Linked DNA regions of Homo sapiens: regions 2 and 3 are each linked to region 1. Evidence: promoter capture Hi-C in human tissues and cell types (Jung and others, 2019). All regions are on one chromosome and are shown on one strand. The core of a region is centred on a gene start or on the middle of the fragment in contact, and the rest is flanking DNA. Distances in the headings are between cores, read along the strand shown.

The links. Contacts are between HindIII fragments. The study calls those that stand out against the background at their distance.
Region 2: a contact is called between a fragment that was not itself captured here and the fragment with the promoter of SH3D19 in region 1, in 2 of the 25 tissues and cell types used here (neural progenitor cells and ovary).
Region 3: a fragment that was not itself captured here is called in contact with the fragment with the promoter of SH3D19 in region 1 in 1 of the 25 tissues and cell types used here (psoas muscle).

Annotation. Positions count from the first base shown.
Region 1 is chr4:151,324,233-151,326,932 of GRCh38, forward strand. SH3D19 (SH3 domain containing 19) reads right to left here and starts at 1,373. Exons shown (of 20, transcript NM_001378122.1): 1 at 1,009-1,373. The coding sequence starts at 1,120. The HindIII fragment of the contact is 31,894 bases long and covers 1-2,700 here.
Region 2 is chr4:151,290,006-151,292,705 of GRCh38, forward strand. All of the region lies in intron 1 of SH3D19 (SH3 domain containing 19), which reads right to left. It overlaps PRSS48 (serine protease 48), which reads left to right. Exons shown (of 5, transcript NM_183375.5): 5 at 1,113-1,857. The coding sequence ends at 1,448. Among named protein-coding and RNA genes, the nearest start is that of PRSS48, 14 kb to the left of the region's middle. The HindIII fragment of the contact is 9,272 bases long and covers 1-2,700 here.
Region 3 is chr4:151,369,790-151,372,489 of GRCh38, forward strand. No RefSeq gene overlaps it. Among named protein-coding and RNA genes, the nearest start is that of FHIP1A-DT, 38 kb to the right of the region's middle. The HindIII fragment of the contact is 3,439 bases long and covers 1-2,700 here.

The sequences.
Region 1 (2,700 bases), core at 123-2,622:
TCCATTTGTTCCGCACAGATACAATATCTTCTCTATTTTTCCAACTTTCTCTTAGTGGTTAAGGGAGTCACACAGAAAAGCTTCTCCACTTCATGGAATATTCGCTATATTCCACTTTATAATGAGGCTCTCAGTGAATCGTTCTCCTCCGACTCTCTCACTTCCCTATCTCCCTTTTGTTGCCAGTCCCCCTAGGTTTGTTCTTCCCTCTTGTTTTCAGATAACTCGGATTACCCAGTTGGAACCAAAGGCCAAAGAATGTCCTCTCTATTATGTTTGATTGAAAAGCCGCCCGGAAGAGGGAAGGGGTGTGGATCTACACTTATTCACTCTTTCACTAATGTGCCAAACTATTTGATCCGTGCCGCTTTTGTGTACCCAAAACACAGTATCATAAAAGTAATTACAGGCCCGAAAATGATTCTCAGCCCAAATGAATGGCCTTTTGGAATGCTATATTCTGGACTTCTCTTTGCGTGGGGGAGGGTCTCACAACTAACGAAAACAAGTCCTACAGAAAACTGGTGAGCTCGGCGGCTGGGGGAGGGAGGGAGGGGGGTCACAGGTCCGAAGTGCAAGGGACGCCGAAACAGGACTTGCCTCAGTTATGAGCACGTGCTCTGACCTGGCTGCGGCGGCGCAGGCAAACCCCTCGGAAGGTGTCGTTGTCCACCGAGACGGCCATTGACCTCTGACTCATCCAGAGATAAGTCATCAACCAGGCCACAAGTCCCAAGCCAGCAGCTCCTGGATTTAGTGTGCACGGAAAATTTGAGTTTCAGCTGTACGACCACTAGCAGTTAAAGACGGGTCTGAATTTCCTCGGGCTCGGCCGGAAAGTGAGGATGGCGATGGAAATGCCACCCTCCCCGAGTCTGGCCTCTGAGAGTTAAAGAAGCCGGTCCCATCCCGGCGCGTGAAGGAGCTGCCGCTGTGTGGGGCAGGACCCGAGCGGCCCCAGAGCGCGCAGCTCTGGGTCCCCGCCGCCCCGTCCCCCGCGCCTCTCACCTGCGGCCGAGTGGCCCGAGAGCGCACGGCCCCGGGCGCGGCGCTGGCCACCAAGTTCGCGGCGCTCGCGTAGCTCTTCCTCCTCGTCCTCCCGCCGCCGGCCCTCAGCCATGGGCGAGGCGCGGGGCGCAGCCGCGGGATGGCCAGCGAGCTGCGGCCCCGGCGCCCCAGAACGCCTGCACCCGGCGCCCCACGCCACCGCCCTCGGGCCGGGGGGAAGGCGGCTCCCGGAGAGGAGGCGTCGGCGGCGGCTGTGGAAATGGCCACCTCCGCGAACTCCACCTGCAGCCGGCCGGGCAGCGGCAGGGCGCGGGCCGAGCCGATTCCCCGCCTCCTTGCGGCGTCCCGGCGGCCTCTTAATCCCTGGCCTTTCCCACTCCCACTCCCGCTCTCTTCCCCCTTCCTCTTTGCCTTCCCCGCCCCGTAGAGCTCCACCGCGGATCGGGCGGGTTCGGGGCTGGCCTCGCCTCCTCAGGGAGGGGTTATCGGCCCCTAAGGCCGCCCCACAGCCACACACGCTGGAAACACCAGCTCGACCCAAACAAACGTGTGCAAAATAAATAAACGGGATAGGAAGAGGGGAAAGAGGAGGTGGCCTGGCCTCTTCCTGCCTTTTCACGATATTCCAGTGTCAACAGGAAACCCATTTGTTTGACACTTAAACAAAAAGAGGAGGAACCCGACCGGGGCCGAACTGGGAGAGATGGGACAGCTGGGAGCTGCTGAACTTTGGAACAAACTTGGCTTGGAGTTGGGTCGAGCCTCTGCAATGCACACTTTTTTCTTTCCCTCTCTTTTCGCCCTTAAAAACCTAGACTTGCGGGAGCACAGAGGATTTTTAGGGCAGTGAAACTACTATGCGTATGATTCTGTAATAGCGGATGCCTTTGTCCAAGCCCAAAGAATGTACAAAACCAAGAGTGAACCGCAATGTAAACTATAGACTTTGGGTGATTATGAGGTGTCAATGTGGGTTCATCAATTGTAGCAACTGTGGCACTCTGGTGGGGGATGTTGATAATGGGGGAGGCTATGCATGTGTGGGAGCAGGGGGTACATGGGAAATCTCTGTACCTTTAGCTCAATTTTGCTGTGAACCTAAAACTGTTCTTAAAAATAGTCTAGTAAGACTGGAAGCGGTGGCTCATGCCTGTAATCCCAGCCCTTTGGGAGGTCGAGGCGGGCAGATCACGAGGTCAGGATATCGAGACCATCCTGGCTAACACGGTGAAACCCCGTCTTTACTAAAAATACAAAAAAAAAAAAAAATAGCCAGGCGTGGTGGCGGGCGCCTGTAGTCCCAGCTACTCGGGAGGCTGAGGCAAGAGACTGGCCTGAACCCAGGAGGCAGAGCTTGCAGTGAACGGAGATCGCACCACTGCACTCCAGCCTGGGCAACAGAGCGAGAGTCCTTCTCGAAAAAAAAAAAAAGTCTAATAAAAATGTTTAATAATAAATCAAGCCTCACTGTATTCCAGTTCATTTAGGGCTAGGATATGGCTACAATTCCTAGAAGAACAGGAAGAAATGTGTTAAAGAGACCCATACGTGATTATTTGTAGAGAGGCAACTAGGGGAAGTGGAGAGACCACTGGCTCTGGAGTCAGAAACTGTAATTTGAAGCACTTAGCTGTGTGAGCTACCCCTAAGAAAGTTTTTCAAAGCTGGAAAGAACCGTGTAACCAAAGTTGT
Region 2 (2,700 bases), core at 72-2,571, 34 kb before region 1:
GTGCAGTGGTAGGATCATAGTTCATTGTAAACATGGCTCAAGCAATACTTCTGCCTCAGCTTCCCGAGTGGTTGGGATGACAGGCATATGCCACCATAGCAGCTATTTACTTATTTATTTGTTTTGAAGAGACAGGGTTCCACTAGGTTGCCCAGGTTGGTCTCAAATGCCTGGCCTGATCCTCCTGCCTTGGCCTCTCAAGGCACTAGGATTACAGACACGAACCATCATGCTGGGCCATAGAAGCATTATTTATAATATAATAGCCCAAATAATGGAAGCAATCACAATGTCCATTAGGTGATGAATGCAGAAACACCAAGTGGTACATCCATACAATGGAATATTATTCAGCCCTAAAAGGAGTGGAGTACTGATACAACATGAAGGAACCTTGAAAAGAATGTGCTAACTGAAACATGCCAGACACAAAAGGTCAGATATTACATGATTCCATTTATATGAAATGTCTAAAATAGGCAAATCCATAGAGGCAGAGAGTGGACTACTGGTTGGCCTAGCTGGGAGGGTTGGGAAGAAATGGGGATAATTACAAATGGGTATGAGGTTTCTTTTTAGGGTGATAAAAATGTTCTAAAATGGGTTGTGGTGATGGTTGTACAACACTGTAAATATACTAAAAACCACTGAATTGTGTAGTATGTGAATTATATGACAGTAAAGCTGTTACAAAAAAGAAAGAGAACAAGACTAGAAGACTACTACCAACAACTATCACTATCATTTTAGGTAAGAATGGATTACTTAACACTAAACAAGAGCAGTAAGAACAGGAAATTAAGGCAGTTCATTCATTTGAATAAATTTATCTTTAGTGAAAAAATCATCTCATTAGTTTTATTTCTCTTTTTATCACAGACAAATATTTTGAAATTACTAATATATTTCACTAAGGTCTCTGACAATTTCAATTCTATGATTCTAAAATTCCTGTGATATCTCCCTAAAGCAGTGATTAGTCCAGCCCCCTGCAGGGTTCCACAGCTCCATGGGTCTCATGGCCCAGTTTTAAAGAATTCTCCACCCCTTATTACTACTCTCTTCTTTATGCCTCTTTTCACTATGCTCATTACCTTTCATTTCTTCCTTAGGGTGATTCTGGAGGGCCTCTGTCGTGTCACATTGATGGTGTATGGATCCAGACAGGAGTAGTAAGCTGGGGATTAGAATGTGGTAAATCTCTTCCTGGAGTCTACACCAATGTAATCTACTACCAAAAATGGATTAATGCCACTATTTCAAGAGCCAACAATCTAGACTTCTCTGACTTCTTGTTCCCTATTGTCCTACTCTCTCTGGCTCTCCTGCGTCCCTCCTGTGCCTTTGGACCTAACACTATACACAGAGTAGGCACTGTAGCTGAAGCTGTTGCTTGCATACAGGGCTGGGAAGAGAATGCATGGAGATTTAGTCCCAGGGGCAGATAACTCACAGGAGAGCCACTGCTAACCCTGGGTGACTTTATTTACAATTTGAAATGATTTTGTTTTTAAGGTTTTTGATTTTGGAAGTTTTGGGGTTGGAATGTGAAGAGTTAAGAAATAAAACTGTCACTTCTGTACATTCTTTGTCCTTGACTAATGCATCTTCCAAGACAGGAAGGATGTCCTCTATGAATAAGCATTTGTAGACACAAATTAAATAGCTATAAGACTAATGTGTCTTCCAAGGCAGGAAGATGTCCTCTATGAATAAGTATTTGTAGACACAAATTAAATAGCTACTACAGAGGCAGGCAAGTATCTGTGATGACACAGGAAAATATAATAAGGGTCTACCTCGTGCCCATGGGTTGCATCATGGGATTTTAGTCTATTATTTCTCACCTTCTCTATTATCTTTAACTTCCCTTCTAACCCTCCCTTTACTCCTCAACTGTAACAAGAGGGCTAATAAAAAATTCATATAAAGCCAATTCCAAGCACACTGCCTACAGATTAGCTAGCCCTGTTCCATAAGGAGCAGTAAAAAAAGAAGAAAAAAAAAGAGATGCAAACATGGGTCAGGCATGTTGGCTCACACCTGTAATCCCAACACTTTGGGAGGCCAAGGATCACTTGTGGCCAGGGGATGAAGACCAGCCTGGGCAACACAGCCCCTGTCTCTACAAAAGAAATAAGAAATTAGCCAAGAATGGTGGCATGTGCCTGTGGTCTCAGCTACTTGGGAAGCTGTGGTGGAAGGATAGCTTGAGACCAGGAGTTCGAGGCTGCAGTGAGCTATGATCACATCACTGCACTCCAGACTGGGCAACAGAGCAAGACCCTGTCTTTAAAAAAAAAAAAGGAAAAGAAAAGAAGGAAGGAAATGCATATATGTAGTTCAGCCCTATATTTTTCTTAAGTTTTTACTTTTTAAAATACCAGTGTGACCTACTACGAACAATGGATTAATGCTATGATCTCAAGAGCTGAGGTCTTGGGTTTCAACAATCTGGACCTATCTAAGTGGTTTAACTTCACATCTATAAAAAAACACTTTAAATATTTGGAACAAAGGACATTATAGAAAAGAGCATTATATCCCATGCTTCCTTTGTTAAACAATCACACAACCTATCCTATTCCCTTCTATACCTAGGCTGCCAGAAACTCAGAGCTAACTTTTGAACTCAATTACAATCATTATCTTCACCACAGATTTTCTGGTATAATTCCATTCATACTTCTTTAAGTCATC
Region 3 (2,700 bases), core at 167-2,666, 46 kb after region 1:
TCCAACCTCTTTCAGTTTCATGGTTTTGCTGTGTGTCCTTCCAGTCCACATTTTTGATAATTTTAATACATATATATTATTCATAAAAAGTACATTGCTTTTTGTGTTTCTAAAATTTACATTAATGGATATATGCTGTCTGTATCTCTTTTTTTGTAGCTTGCTTTTTAAACTAAAAGCTATATTTTGTGTGTGTGTGTGTGTGTGTGTGTGTGTGTGTGTGTGTGTGTGTATAAGACAGGATCTTGCTCTATCACCCAGGCTGGAGTGCAGTGGCACGATCATGGCCCTCTGCAGCCTTGATCTCTTGATTTCCCGGGCTCAAGCAATCCTCCCACCTCAGCCTTCCTAGTAGCTGGGAGTACAGGCACGCACTACCATGCCCAACTGATTTTTAAAATGTTTAGTAGAGATGACGTCTCGCTATGTTGCCCAGACTAGTTTAGAACTCCTGAGCTCAAGCAATCCTCCTGCCTCAGCCTCCCAAAGTGTTGGGATTACATGCGTGAGCCACTGCACCTGGCCTAAAACTATACTTTTAAAGATTGATTCATGTTACTAGTTCATTCCTGTAAGCCAGTGGCTCTCGACAGTTTTTTTTTTTTGAAATGGAGTCTTGCTCTGTCACCCAGGCTGGAGTGCAATGGCACTATCTTGGCTCACTGCAACCTCCACCTCCTAGGTTCAATTGATTCTCCTGCCTCAGCCTCCTGAGTAGCTGGGATTATAGCACCCGCCACCATGCCCAGCTAATTTTGTATTTTTAGTAGAGAGAAACAGGTTTCACCATGTTAGCCAAGCTGGTCTCGAACTCCTGACCTCAGGTGATCCACCTGCCTCAACCTCCCAAAGTGCTGGATTACAGGCATGAGCCACAGAACCTGGCCAACAGTTTTGCCTCCCCAGTGGACCTTTGGCAATATCTGGAGATATTTTTGATTGTCACGGTGGGTGGTGGGCAGGGAGGTGCTATTGGCATCTAGTGGGTAGAGAGGCCAGTGATACTGCTTAACATCCTACAATGCAGAGGATAGCTCCCTGCAACAAAGAACGGTGTGGTCCAAAATGTCAGTAACACCGAAGTTGAGAAACCCTGATCTAAACAAGTGATTCTCAAAATGTGGTCCTGACTGGCAGCATCAGCATCCCCTTAGAACTTGTTAGAATACAAATTCTTTGGCTCTGTCCCTGACCCAATGAATCAGAATTTATGGGGGAGAACACAGAAATCTAAGGTTCTACAAACCCTCCAGGTGATTCTGGTGCACACTAAAGTGAGAACCACTGAGCTAAAACTATTGAATTGTTTTCAATTGTATGGAAACACCCCACTGCATTTATCTTATTGATCATTTCACATTTATCATGTAAGATGATGTTCTCTATACTAAGAGGCTCCTTTGTCCTCCTACACTACACCATACAACATACCCCTTAAAACATTAAAATGGACATTTTAGTAATAAAAAACATCTGTTGGAATGCTTACTATTTCCTTGGCATTATTCTAGGTTTTTTATCTATTAATTACCCGTAACAACCCAAGGAAGTAGATGCCAGTACTATCCAATTTCACAGATGAGAAACTAAGTAGTAAAGTAATTTGTTCAAGGTTACACAACTAATAAGTGTCTGACCGAGCCAAGATTTGAACCCAGACTGTTTGGGACTAGAGCCTGTTTCTTTAACATTGCACACATTCCCAGAAACACAGACTGTACCATTTTGGCTTAATGTTCAGAGCCTAGTGTAATAGATTATGCATCCAAATGTCTAACAAAAAATGACGTGGAGCCTGGGCTCAGTGGCTCATGCCTGTAATCCCAGCACTTTGGGAGGCCGAGACAGGCAGATCACTTGAGGTCAGGAGTTCGAGATCAGCCTTGCCAACATGGTGAAACCCTGCCTCTACTAAAAATACAAAAATTAGCCAGGCGTGATAGTGTGTGCCTGTAATCCCAGCTACTCAGGAGGCTGAGGCAGGAGAATCACTTGAACCCAGGAGGCAGAGGTTGCAGTGAGCCGAGATTCTGCCACTGCACTCCAGCCTAGGCGACAGAGCAAGACTCCTTCTCAAAAAAAAAAAAAAAAAAAGTGGAAATGAGAGAAAGGGTGCAGACAGTGGAGTCTAATCTAAATTTGGCATGCTTCTACCAAGCACAGAATTCATTTTCTCTAAAACGCCTCAAAGCTCCTGCTCCAGCCATATACACAGGCACTTATATTTATATCACTAAGACATGAACCTTTACATGAAATTTGGAGAAATAATCTTGCTACTCAACACTATACATATTTTTAAAAAGATTAAATACAGGATTTAGAATCAGGTTTTCATTTAAGCACATCAAAAATAGATGCTAAAACTTTAATGGTATTAAAAAAACAAAAAATAAAAAAATGGTGGCCTTTAAACATTTACTGTGGTTTTAATTTTTCTTGAGTGTCACTTTATATTTTCATGTGGTATGAAAGGTTTAGTGACTTCCAACCAGAGATATTTTCTGATCACTTTCTAGAAATCTACAATGTTGTTAGGAAGATAAAGCATACACATGCAAAGCAGTTAAACAGTAATACAAGTCCAGGTAACCTTAAGAGGTCAAGGTTATAATATAGCAGATACAAAGCTTAACCTTAAGAGTTTAAGCTTAAAATGTAGCAGATACAAAGAGAGCAAAGGTTATAGAAACTCAGAGA